Regions from separate parts of the Homo sapiens genome. Here region 2 is linked to region 1. The links are contacts of gene promoters, found by promoter capture Hi-C in human tissues and cell types (Jung and others, 2019). All regions are on one chromosome and are shown on one strand. The core of a region is centred on a gene start or on the middle of the fragment in contact, and the rest is flanking DNA. Distances in the headings are between cores, read along the strand shown.

Region 1 (6,367 bases), core at 1,090-3,589:
CACCTAAGTTTGTGTAAGTACGCTCTATGATATTCAGACAGTGATGAAATCTCCTAAAGACACATTTCTCAGAATGTATCCCTGTCATTAAGCAATACATAACTATGGAAAGTATCTAAGGGAATTCCAAATACGGGCTGGATAAAATGAATTGCATTAGCATTATGCATTACAATAAAAAAGAACCAATATTGAGTACACTTCATGTGCTAAGTATTTCACTGGTGTTCAGAAGTATGATCCTGTTTCATCTTCACGACAGGCCTGAAAAGTTAAATTTCATTATCTATAATTTCTAATCATAGAAGTAATTTGCCAAATGAAACAAAGCCAGTAAGTAATTTCTTAAGCAAGATTTTGAATTTAGATGTGTTTAAGTTCTCAGCCCACATTCTTTCCACTATATCAAGAAGCTTGTTGAAGATGCAGGAGGGCAGATCCCAGTACCTTCTTAAAAACTGTACATATTATGTTCTTGCTTCTTTGGGGCTTTTGTGAGTTAAGCTCCTACTTTTACATTTGTAAGCATTCAGTTTCCCACACAGTTTTAAAGGCTCTATTTAGGTTCCTCGCCCCATCTTTACAGGAAAGCATGCCATTATTGGCATTGATTAAATATTCATGGCGCTCCACCCTCTGGATTCCATGCCCAGCACCTGTCATAGTGCCACCTTACTGTTTGGACTAACGAGGGGTTGGTTTTCTTATATTAATTGGTAGTAAGCCCCTCATTTCCATTTTCCAGGTAACATGCTTGTGTGTTTGTTTTCAGGTATGCAGGCTATATAGATTGGTTAACAAGCATCTTTCACTTAAACAAATAGATAAAGAGCAGGTGTCTTCAGTTCCTTGTCCTCAAACTTAAATGGTGCATTAGCTCTGACTTCATTACTACTGACACAGGATTCCTTAAATCTCTATTCTGTAAACAAATAAACAAACAAAAAATACCCTTTTATCTCTACAGAAAATCCTGTACATGATAAGGATATTTTAAATTCTCTGGTTATTTTCTATACTCATTTTTTAGTTTATATATTTTCTTTGACGTATCCCATTTCAAATTTTCAAGGTTGACACATCATGCCTGTAATCTCTAGGGCTTAAAAGTCAATTTCCGTAAAGTACAACACACAGTCCACTTATTTTACAAACCAAGGGCAGTCAAACCAAGCCATGAAAAGTAATTTTTAGGTAGAAATTAGGCTACTATTCTTCATCAATACAGATGAAGCCTCATTATTGCCAAAGATCTTAATTACTATGATGATGATGATTCAGTAATCTAGATTTAATTTTCAAAGGAATTTCAAAAGGAAACTCTCCACATCTCATCCCACAACTATCCAAATGCAGACTCAAGCCTAAGTAGTATATGTCACATAAACACAAAAAAGGTGGGTGGCAGCGAAGGGGTTTGGGGATGTTTATGTGATCTGACTCTCTGTTGGACCAGTTAATTTTGATCCTTCACCTTCCTAAAGCATCCAAACCTTAGGTGCAGATTTAACTTCTCGCCATCCACGCCATCTAGTGGCTTGTATGTGTTACGTTTGGTTTTAAGGATGATTCCTAATGACTCGGGGGCGGGGTACGCGAAAAACAAAAAGGTTGGTAGCGACAATTTTCCTGTGTCTCTCTACCTCAGTAACCCCTCATACGAACACCTTTAACTCTTTTAACTATTTTAAATATGCGCAGTGATGCGCAGAGAGGATGAAGGGGACGCAAACTTTCAGAGACGCACGCCCCTTGACGATGACATTTAGAAAAGGGCTCCACATCCCTGTTATTCGTAAAGGACGGGAAAAGGAGTTGTGTCAAGACCTCGATCGAGGAGAGTCTCTGATTTTTTGGCAAGTTGGACAGATGGCATATCAATCCCTGCAACGTTAACAATCTGGTTTTGAAAATAAATAAAAACAGAAAGAGGAAATGCACTTAAAAATTCCGCGTCGGAGCTTTGCGGGTCTTGCCTTCCAGTCGCCCCCAGAAGACAACCAATTCCTGCGCATTCCGCTCCGCTCACCCTCCTTCCCAGCTTCTCTCGCTCTCTTTCCCCCCATTTTCCCACGCTCGCCTTGAACCGGGACTCGAGAGGCAGAAGCAAGGCACGGGTCCCCTTTCTCCTCTCCTCCACCAAACCACCGCAGCCCAGCACGTGAAGCTTCCCTTTGTTCATCCGAGGCTCGCTTTTCTCCCCAGCAGATCCACCTGGATGCTCTCCCTCGGTGACATTTTGCGCCGGGGTTGGTGGGTGGCTGGGGTGGAGCGAGAGGAGCCCGAGGGGGCGGGGGCGGAGAAAGGTCAAGCCGAGGGAAAGGCAGGAGACGCCTTTCCTAACCTGCGTGGCGGGGCGTGCGCGCGGTTATTTATTTATTTTCTCCTTATTTATTGATCGCACTAGCAGAGCAGCGCGGGGAGCCCGGGGAGATGCAGGACCACCCACTGGCGGGGAAGCAGCTAGCAGCCCTCCCGCGCCCCCGCGCTGCCGAGCGCCTTCTGCCTCCGCGCTCGGACGAGAGCCCGTGCCGGCCCCGGCCCCGGCCCCACCGCGCCAACGCCGCCCGCCCGGCCGCCCCGCAGCCCCGCCGCCCCGCAGCCCCGCACCGCGCTGGCCAGGCTCCCGCGACAGTGGCCCCGCAGTAAGTTGGCAGGAGCGAGTCCCCTCCGTTCTCGCCTCCCCCGCACCTTTTGAACTTGTTGCTGCTGCTCTGCTCGCCTGCGCCTGGCTTTTGGAAGGTGAAAAGGAGGAGGGAGGCACGGAGGGATGGGGGAAGGGAAAGAAGAGCTCGCTTGAGCTTTATTTATGCTCTCTCGGCGCATCGGATTCGGCTGCTCGCGAGCTGCTTTCTCTCCTCTTCCCTTTCCGGGTGCACGGCGAGGAGAAAGTCTCTATGCAACTAAGCCCCGGCGCGCACTTGGCCAGGTATGTACCGCGGGAGCGGCGCGTTCTGCGCGGAAGCAGATGCTGCTGCCGCCACGGCGGCGGCGGCTGCCAGCTCCTGAGCTCTGTAACTGTCACACTGCACCTGAGCTGAACTTGAAAAGAGAGTGAAGGGGCGATTGGGCGAACGCTTTTGGCAGACACAGAGGGTGTTTGTAGACGTGGGGGAGGAGAATCTCTATTAACGCCCCCCACCGTAACCACTGCACATCACCTCCATCTCTGCAAATACAGCCCGAGGAGTAGAGGCAGCAGCAGCTGGACCCCCAAAGAGAGACGTGGGGCAGCGGCTGTGACCGCATCTCCTGAGCTACAACAACAGGTCGCCTTTTTGAGACTCCTTTGGCGGGAAGGGCTACTTGGAAAGGAAGGTTTGAAAGAGTGAGAAGGGTAGGTGTAAGGGTTCCCTAATTCGTCGAAAGAATTCTATTGGGTGACTCTCGTTCGTCTTCTCTATCCTACACTCCACATACTGACCCTATATTATCCAGACTGTGCCGGGGAGAAATCAAAAACACCTGTTTGAAGAAACGGCTGCACCTGTGTGCTTATTTGTGCCAGAGGGTGGCCTAGCCCACCTGCAGGAAGAGATTTGGCTGGGTTCTGTTGAGGGTGATTGTTAGGACGTTGTATTTTGTTGCCATTATTCCAAATACCTGTCTTGGAGGGAAAGTTGCCCTTCTGAGAACTGTGACTTTACCAGGAGCCCTATCTTGGAATAAGAGTTACACCTCTGGACCACGTTTCTCACTAGTACTTTGCTTGACTGGAGGAAGTGGGTGACTTTTGGCTGCTTCGGTGACCCATTGTAGACGCCTCGTTACCCTTCTTCCTTCCGCTTCAAGTAATCATGGCGGCGGGGGTGGCAGCGTGGCTGCCTTTTGCAAGGGCAGCGGCTATCGGGTGGATGCCTGTGGCCTCGGGGCCTATGCCGGCTCCCCCGAGGCAGGAGAGGAAAAGGACCCAAGATGCTCTCATTGTGCTGAATGTGAGTGGCACCCGCTTCCAGACGTGGCAGGACACCCTGGAACGTTACCCAGACACTCTACTGGGCAGTTCTGAGAGGGACTTTTTCTACCACCCAGAAACTCAGCAGTATTTCTTTGACCGTGACCCAGACATCTTCCGCCACATCCTGAATTTCTACCGCACTGGGAAGCTCCACTATCCTCGCCACGAGTGCATCTCTGCTTACGATGAAGAACTGGCCTTCTTTGGCCTCATCCCGGAAATCATCGGCGACTGCTGTTATGAGGAGTACAAGGATCGCAGGCGAGAGAACGCCGAGCGCCTGCAGGACGACGCGGATACCGACACCGCTGGGGAGAGCGCCTTGCCCACCATGACTGCAAGGCAGAGGGTCTGGAGGGCCTTCGAGAACCCCCACACCAGCACGATGGCCCTGGTGTTCTACTATGTCACGGGGTTTTTCATTGCCGTCTCTGTCATCGCGAATGTGGTGGAAACAGTGCCGTGCGGATCAAGCCCAGGTCACATTAAAGAACTGCCCTGTGGAGAGCGGTATGCTGTGGCCTTCTTCTGCTTGGACACGGCCTGCGTCATGATCTTCACAGTTGAGTATTTGCTTCGCCTGGCTGCAGCGCCTAGTCGTTACCGTTTTGTGCGTAGTGTCATGAGTATCATCGACGTGGTGGCCATCCTGCCTTATTACATTGGGCTGGTGATGACAGACAATGAGGACGTCAGCGGAGCCTTTGTCACACTCCGAGTCTTCCGGGTCTTCAGGATCTTTAAGTTTTCCCGCCACTCTCAAGGCCTGCGCATCCTGGGGTACACACTGAAGAGTTGTGCCTCAGAATTGGGCTTCTTGCTTTTCTCGCTCACCATGGCTATCATCATCTTCGCTACAGTTATGTTCTACGCAGAGAAGGGGTCTTCGGCTAGCAAGTTCACCAGCATCCCTGCAGCCTTCTGGTATACCATCGTCACCATGACAACACTAGGGTAGGTGCCATAATGGGAAATGGGATGGAGGTTGGGTATGGGTGAGGCGATTGTGGACCCATCGAGGTTACATGGTAACTCCGGGGAAATCATTTGTTTTCTTTCCTGAGTTTAGGAAAGCATTATCTAAATGGTTTGGCAAAACTCTTTTCATCTGTGAAATGGGTATAATACACACGTTGAAGTATTAAGGCATTGCTGGCAAATGTTGATGCCTGAAAGTGATAAAGATACAAAGAAATTTTAGAATTCCTGAATATATGAAAGTAGTAGCAATATTTATATTAATATATAAAAATATGACAATGAAAAACAAAATCTATGCCCTAATAAAGACACAAATATATACAATGTATATTGAAATGTCTATAAAGTGGTTCAATGCATTTAAATGAAAAGTTTCCAGGTATACTTGAACTATTATTTTCATATGAATAGATACTTATGGTGTACATTTTTCCTCTAAGAACCATAATTCCTATTTTACATCGTAATACATAGATTGTAGATGTAATTATCAAAGTATTTTATAATATATATGCACATATTCATATGTATGCACTTTAATTATGGTTGATAGGTTATTCAGTCTTTTAGAATATCAGAGCTGAAACTGATCAACTCTACAATATGCAGTGGAATTAAATTTGCAACATATTTCAAGCTCTAGGTTCATAGTTTCAAAAAAAGAAGCAAAAGACTGTCATCCACACATTTTTTTTTAGAATCTACAGATCCCATCAGGCAATGGGTCCACACCCATTAAATACACATAGAAGATAGAGCAGTATCTGGTAAGATTGATGGTCACCAAGGCTGGCTGTATTATAAAATTTGGGGTCCTAATTTCCTTTTAGAATTTTTTTGTGAATTCTTTTTTGGGGGTATAATGAAGTTCTGCAACCAAAGGGACAAATTTCTGAATTCATGCTGTTGTTTTTAATATACTTTTAGGGCTAGAATTAAGTTTTTTTAGGTAGTAGAGAAAAGGAAAGGAGGCAAATGATTAATAATGTTAAACTGCAGAAAAGTAGCAGCATTTTACATATTAGAGAATCTAATAAAATAAAATGGTTAGATCTTTTTACTTTTATGAGTTCTTAGATAAGCTGGGGAGTGATGTGAGTGCCTTTTCTTCAGCTTTGTGCTACTATTCTTGCATAGGTAATCAGTTTAGTGAGGATTTGGTAATGGCTATAAGAAAAAAGTTATTCCCAAGGCTACTCTTTAAGCTTTGTGTTTTTGGATAATTTAATTGGCTTCTTTAAATGACATTGTGGTTAAAGTCAACTTAATTTTATTAGACATATTGTGTTGTACAGAATTTCTCATGTCATGTGGCCAGCTAATGGAATAGTTTATATATGAAGAATTTTAGGCTAGGTTAAACAAGAAATTGGGGTAAAGAAAAATACAATGATTTATGATTTTTATTTAGTCTCATTTTTTTAAAGA
Region 2 (6,367 bases), core at 1,319-3,818, 1.3 Mb before region 1:
TGCCCAATTGACAAATTGCTCTTTGCTCAATTAAGCTCTTTTAAATTTAATTCAGCTACAGTTTTTTTTTTTTTGAACAGATGGTGTCAGAAGTGGGATACAAAGTAGAGCTTTTAGCAACCCTCAGGAGTGCCAAGTGACAAAGTGAGGTACCCATCAGACCCATTGTGTCCATTGTTTTCTCAGAACAACTGAGGATTGTGATAAGTGCTCTCTTGGATTCTGAAGCTTCATAGATTTGTGTTTTGAGCTCTCCAGGTTTCTTTGAGCAAATCTCTGATCCAAATTGGGTTTGGAAGTAATGACAGAAATAGGAGTGGGCTCAAGATTGGACTGGATCTGATAATTAATTAGCTTGGATTCAGTTAGAGGTCTCTTACATCTGAATGGATCAGAAATAAACTGACAGTAAGTGAAAATATTGCAGATGGTGTAAGTATTGTCTTTTGAAAATTTGCAGGGATTTTTGTATTCTATCCATTTGTTTATTTTTATTGCATGCTTAGTGTATTAGTCTGTTTTCATGATGCTGGTAAAGACATACTGGAAACTGGGAAGAAGAGGATTAATTGGACCTATATTTCCACATGACTGGGAAGGCCTCAGAATCATGGCAGGAGGTGAAAGGCACGTCTTACATGCTGGCAGCAAGAGAAAAATGAGTAAAAAGCAAAAGTGGGAACCCTTGATAACCTCATCAGATCTTGTGAGACTTATGCACTATCTTGAGAAAAGCATGGGAAATACCGGCCCCCATGATTCAATTACCTCCCCCTGGATCCCTCCCACAACACATGGGAATCCTGGGAGCTACAATTCAAGTTGAGATTTGGGTGGGGACACAGTCAAACCATATCACTTAGGTAAGGAAAAAATATCATTGGCTAAGTTGATCAAGGGAACCCGAGAGACAAAGCCAATATTTGAAGTAAAAATGGGATGCATAATTTCTGAAGATCTGAATTCCTTCTAGCTTATACATGCATAATTATTAGGGCCCCAGAAGCAGCAAGTCTTACGGAAACAGTAAAATCTTACTAAAATATAAAGTTACAGTGGAACATTCCAAATAAGCAACACAGCACTGAAGAAGTACATTTGAAAATGAAGACTCCCAAATTATTCTCATCTAGAGATTTGTATTGATATGCAGAAGCTTCAAAAAGCATTTCATTTTTTATTAAGTATTTTATTTTTATTTAAAGACTTTATGAAAAGCAAATAACAAGCTTAAGCAACTGATTGATAAGAAAAATTAAAACTACTAACCTTTTGGCTTAGTTGGTATCCCACCCCAAAGGTGGAAAGAAAGCTATCCTAGATAAGGTGTTTATAAAAGGTAGGCTCACAGGTAGAATAGGCTTGCTTCTTTTATAGATACATCCATCCTGAGGCCTTAAGAATGCTTTCCTGTCCCTAATTGAAGGGCTGCATACTGAACTTAGTAATTTTAGCTAAGAAACAGTATGTAAGTTAAAAAAGAATACCCTACTAAACTAAAATACCCTACTAAAGTAAAATACACCTTTCTGAAATTTAATTGGCTATCTTGAAACTCTTTTGCAAAAGAAATTCACATTTATCAAGGAAATCTCCAATTTTACGGATATCTGCTATTGCATATTCAAAAATCTTACCAGTCTTTTAAATTTACATATTAAGTAATATGTTTCTTTAAGGTGCTTTTCTGGCCATCTTGTCTTAAGCGAGCTTTTACTTGAGCAGTTTTTTTCCCCTTGGTTTGAGCAAATGATGATACAATATTTAGGCCTGAAATCTTAGGTCTGTGCTTACAAAATATAAAATTTTTTGTTCCATCTAAAAGTTTTTCTTTTAGAAATGCAAATTTGTTGCCTAGTTAGCAATTGCTTATGGCAATGAAACAGGTAACTGGAAGACTGATAGACCGAGTGGGGAAAAGAAAAAAAAATATTTAAAAGCTGGTAAATGGAAATCCTTTATGAGAGCTATGAGATCTGCTCCTGTGTGTTTGTATGTCTCTATGTATTATATGTATGTGATAGTTGGTTAATAAAGCTAGTTTTAAAATTATTGGTACAATATAAATGGCTTCAAAATTATTAGTTAATTGTAATTAGATACTTGCTTGATTTGACTGTGAACTTACGTCTTTGGTTTACAGTCGCTGGATTCAGGGTTCTGGATAGGTGGCCATAACGAAATCTGGAGACATGTTCTTAGTGCCTAGACCAGCAGTTATAAGCCAGAATCGAGCCAAATTTAGCCCTTTCTTTCTCTGCTTTTCTGATTTCACCTCCTAGCTATTTTGAGAGGGGTTGTATCCTCCAGATATAGTCTTCACAGCTTCTGTTCTTATAGTCCTGACTTTCATAGTCCTCCTGGGTGCCACGTGGTTACTTGAAACGTACAATGACTGGAGAAAGACATTAGGGAGGCTACCCGTGTCATAGTATCAACATTCTTTTCAGTAATTTAAAATCTTAGAATTATGTTATGTTAAATTAACCTTTTTCCCATTTACCCCAAGTATACTCACCAGTGGTGCTTGTAGCTGGAGCATTTACCCCGAGATAATTTTGCCATGAAATATCTCACTTTTGTTATTATTTTCAAATTTCTCAAGCATATTGACTTTGCAAATAAAAAAATCATTCTATTTATAGCATTCTGTTTTTAGTAGTGGTATTTCCATATACAAAATATAGTAATTCTCAATTGCTGAAAATGTCAAATCCTAGAAAACGTAGCATTACTACATGTAACGTTAACATCATTCTTGCACAGTTGTTAGACAAAGATTAATTTGATGAATCCAATTTTTCCAAAATAGACCATTCTGATGATTCAGATGATTCTGATGTCATCTGTTTAGACAGATCTGTTTAGAAAGAACTCCAAAAACAGTTTTTATATTTTATTGTCATGTTGAAAATCAGTTAGATTTGCTTCAGCTTCAAGGAGCATGTTTTCGTAAAATTAAATGAGCGCTACAAGCAAGCTGTGCTTCTTTTTTCTAAATGGGAAAAAGGTTAAGTAATAAATAATCATAAAATATCTGACTCATCTGTAAGTTAAGATACTGAAATATTAATTATTAAACATGAGTCTAAATCTATGTATTTTGATATTACTTTTATATGGTATAGAAAAGCTAAATATGTATAGACTGTTAATAAACAATAATTTGAAGAACTATTTTTCTAAAAAATTATATTTTTTCCACAAATACTGATATAAAACAGTTCAAAATTGCTTTCTAGGGTTTTCACTACATACTAGGATTACTAAGATTTAAAAACTACTAGATATTAAAGAAACAATTCTGTATACAGAGTCTATAAACAAAAGCAATATATGTTTTTGATGAATAAATTTATTAAAGAACAAAAGTGTGTGTTAAAAACTTTGGTTTGAAGTTATTTAAAGTTTTCAAATGGAAGAAATAAAAAATAAATCAAAATGACTATAGAAAGTCAGGGAAACATGTAAAACAAAAGTCTTATGCAAATTTTGTTTTCAAAAGATGACATATTTGATAAATTTATTTATGAAGTCTTATTAAAATTAGTTTTAGTATTGATACACTAATATGACATTAAAATCTAGTTTTCTGTTTTGAACAAAATTTTCTTTAGTATTAACAAGACACAGTAAAATATTTTTGTCTTTTGAGTAAACTGCAAAAAGACGAAGAAGAAAGAGAGGAAAGAAGTATAGATAGATTCTATTTTATACTGTCTTAAGTCTTCTGACTGGAAAACTGAGTGTCCTTTTTCAAAGCTTATAGGTATTTGCTTTTACAAATATTTTAATTATCACTTTGGTTGAATGAATGACTATTGTTTTATGGTGATTTGTGATACTATTTTGGTCTAATGCTTTAAGCCTTTAACACATTTGAAAGGCTTCCCAAAATCAAATTTCTTCTTCAAAACTAAGTCTTTGTCGACCTCTAACTTCGGGATGTTACAGAGGGCCCATGAAGCATTTAAAAGAGAGGTAAACAGGATTATTTGACATATTAATTTACATGGGGTGCATTGTCAAATATGAAATAATGTTTAACCTTCTTCAGATTATATTTTAATGAAGTTATTAATATACATTCCAAAATTGAATGGGATTTCTAAAATTCTGATATGTTTGAATATGTGCTATCAATCATAATTATGGTTATTATATGAAGTTATTGTAGACCACAGAAATAACCAAATTTCCTTGCCAACTGTGTCTTTAACTGTGACTACTTAAAGTCATTTCCACAGTTAATTGCTTCTCTCTGTTGCAGTTTCTGAAAACTTTGCAAGCACACAAAATCCTAGAATATGGGGTATTTGAGGAAGTCCATTTATGAACGGATGAAAAAGACCCTGAGAAACGCTCTAGAATATGGGTTTTTGATCACATTAGAATTATATTATTTGGACTTTAAGAATTCCTGAAACTTGAATAAAGAGATTAACTGGTTTATAAACTGCTATCACAAGCAAGACAAAAATTAATAGAATACCAGGAAAATACTTTGCCAGATTTTCCTGCTAAATCAGCCAGTACTGAAATTGTTTATATATACAATTTCAATGAACAACAAGATCTCAGTAAAATTACCTATGATAACCCATCAATTATAAGTGCTATGCACCTAAATTGGAGAAACAACTGGCATTCAAAAGGACGTAAGTTCAGTGTTAAGCATGAACTCATGAAGAACCAGGATGACCACCTTGCCCTTCCTGAGTCCTTAAACCTTTTGTTATTAAAAGTTCTGCATTCCATGATTCTTCATGGAAAAGAAAAAAATATCCAAATTAAATATATATATTAGTGTGATAACTTCTAAATTACTAAAAGAGTTTACGATTAGTGTTTTCCTGAGTCATTAAAACTTTTGTTATTAAAAGTTCTGCATTCCACGATTCTTCATGGAAAAGATAAAATTATCCAAATTAAATGTATATATTAGTGTGGTAACTTCTAAATTGCTAAAATAGTTTATGGCCAATGTTTGCTTTGTCAAACACTTATTCCTGGGAAGACAATCAAAACTTTAGGTATATTCGGCTACTTGATGGGCCATTTAAACATTTATAGAGGGATTTCATTCAGTTGTCATGTTTAATTCATGTTTTCTGGTTGTATAAAAGCTTTTCCATGCTAGAGGGCTGATGTTACAACAGTAGATCATTATGCCACAGTATATTATCACCAGATAAAGGAGGCTTTCTCTGGTTCACTGACTGAGGACAATTAACCCCTTCACAATCTAGAACCCCAAGCTTGGATCTTCTGAGAACATCAGAGAAACACTGCCCTTGTTAGCCACACTGCAGTAAAACTTCAGGACCTTGAACCTTGGGTTCATAATCTCACAACTCAGAAGGCTCCCTCCATACTTTTTGAACTGTACACCCATTGGAACCATTAAGGTAAAGCTAACCAGGGAAGTTTCTCCCCAGAAGAAGACAGCATCCTTGATGAGGTCAGCTTTTTCTCAAAATCACAGATCAAGACTTCTCTACTATAATGATACTCTTATCTTTAATTTTTTTTTTCATGGCTTATACCTCTATGAAATATAGAAGTGAAAAGGAGGTCTGTTTTTTCCACTCATGGGTTATACGTATATTTGTGAAGGGTTTTTGCAGCCAGCCTTATACAAGGATAACCTCATCCCTTAATCAATGGAATATGAAGGCCCAATGTAGGTGAGAAATTTTAATGGTACATATAATGCCTCATAGTCTGAAACAGAACATCAGTCCACCCTTCTTAACCTATACCAAGGGTTAAAGAGAACATTGTTGAGAGGTCTTCACTCTTCTAAAAGGGCATCATTTGATCCTTTTTTCTATAGTTTGGATTAAATGAGGTAATGATTAGGAATGTATCCCTCATATTAGGCTGTATAGCAGATTATACTCTAAAGTCTATGGTTACACAACAGACTTCAAATTTTCTTGTGAAAGTTATGCTAAATAATAGAATTGCTCTAGATTACTTACTAGCTAAACAGAGATGTATCTGGCAGCTGCTGGCACTTGTTGTCCATGGAGAAACACATTACATTGGGTATTAGAAAGATTTAGTTGTAGGGCACTGATTAAAAGACTGCTTGATTAAAGCAAGTAGGCTCTTTAGCTAATTCATGGATCTATTTGATTTTAGTTGGTTTATTTTATGGGGACCCTGGAGTATGAGCATACTTCAGACTCTTGGTATTATCTTCCTGGTAGTCACAGTAGTAGTCTCCCTTTGCATGTATCCTCTTGAAAGTTTTAAATGTTTGCACTCAGCCGTCTCTAGAATGTCAGATGTTCTCTCTTCAACTGGAATGGCAAGAGCTGAAAGAAATGTGTGACCATGAGGGAACCATAACCTGTGAATG

Evidence for each region. Contacts are between HindIII fragments. The study calls those that stand out against the background at their distance.
Region 2: a contact is called between a fragment that was not itself captured here and the fragment with the promoter of KCND2 in region 1, in 1 of the 25 tissues and cell types used here (mesenchymal stem cells).

The regions. Positions count from the first base shown.
Region 1 is chr7:120,270,836-120,277,202 of GRCh38, forward strand. KCND2 (potassium voltage-gated channel subfamily D member 2) reads left to right here and starts at 2,340. Exons shown (of 6, transcript NM_012281.3): 1 at 2,340-4,912. The coding sequence starts at 3,798. RefSeq lists silencers at 1,427-1,526, 2,446-2,595 and an enhancer at 3,036-3,105. The HindIII fragment of the contact is 5,227 bases long and covers 1,291-6,367 here.
Region 2 is chr7:118,920,721-118,927,087 of GRCh38, forward strand. No RefSeq gene overlaps it. Among named protein-coding and RNA genes, the nearest start is that of ANKRD7, 700 kb to the left of the region's middle. The HindIII fragment of the contact is 3,752 bases long and covers 693-4,444 here.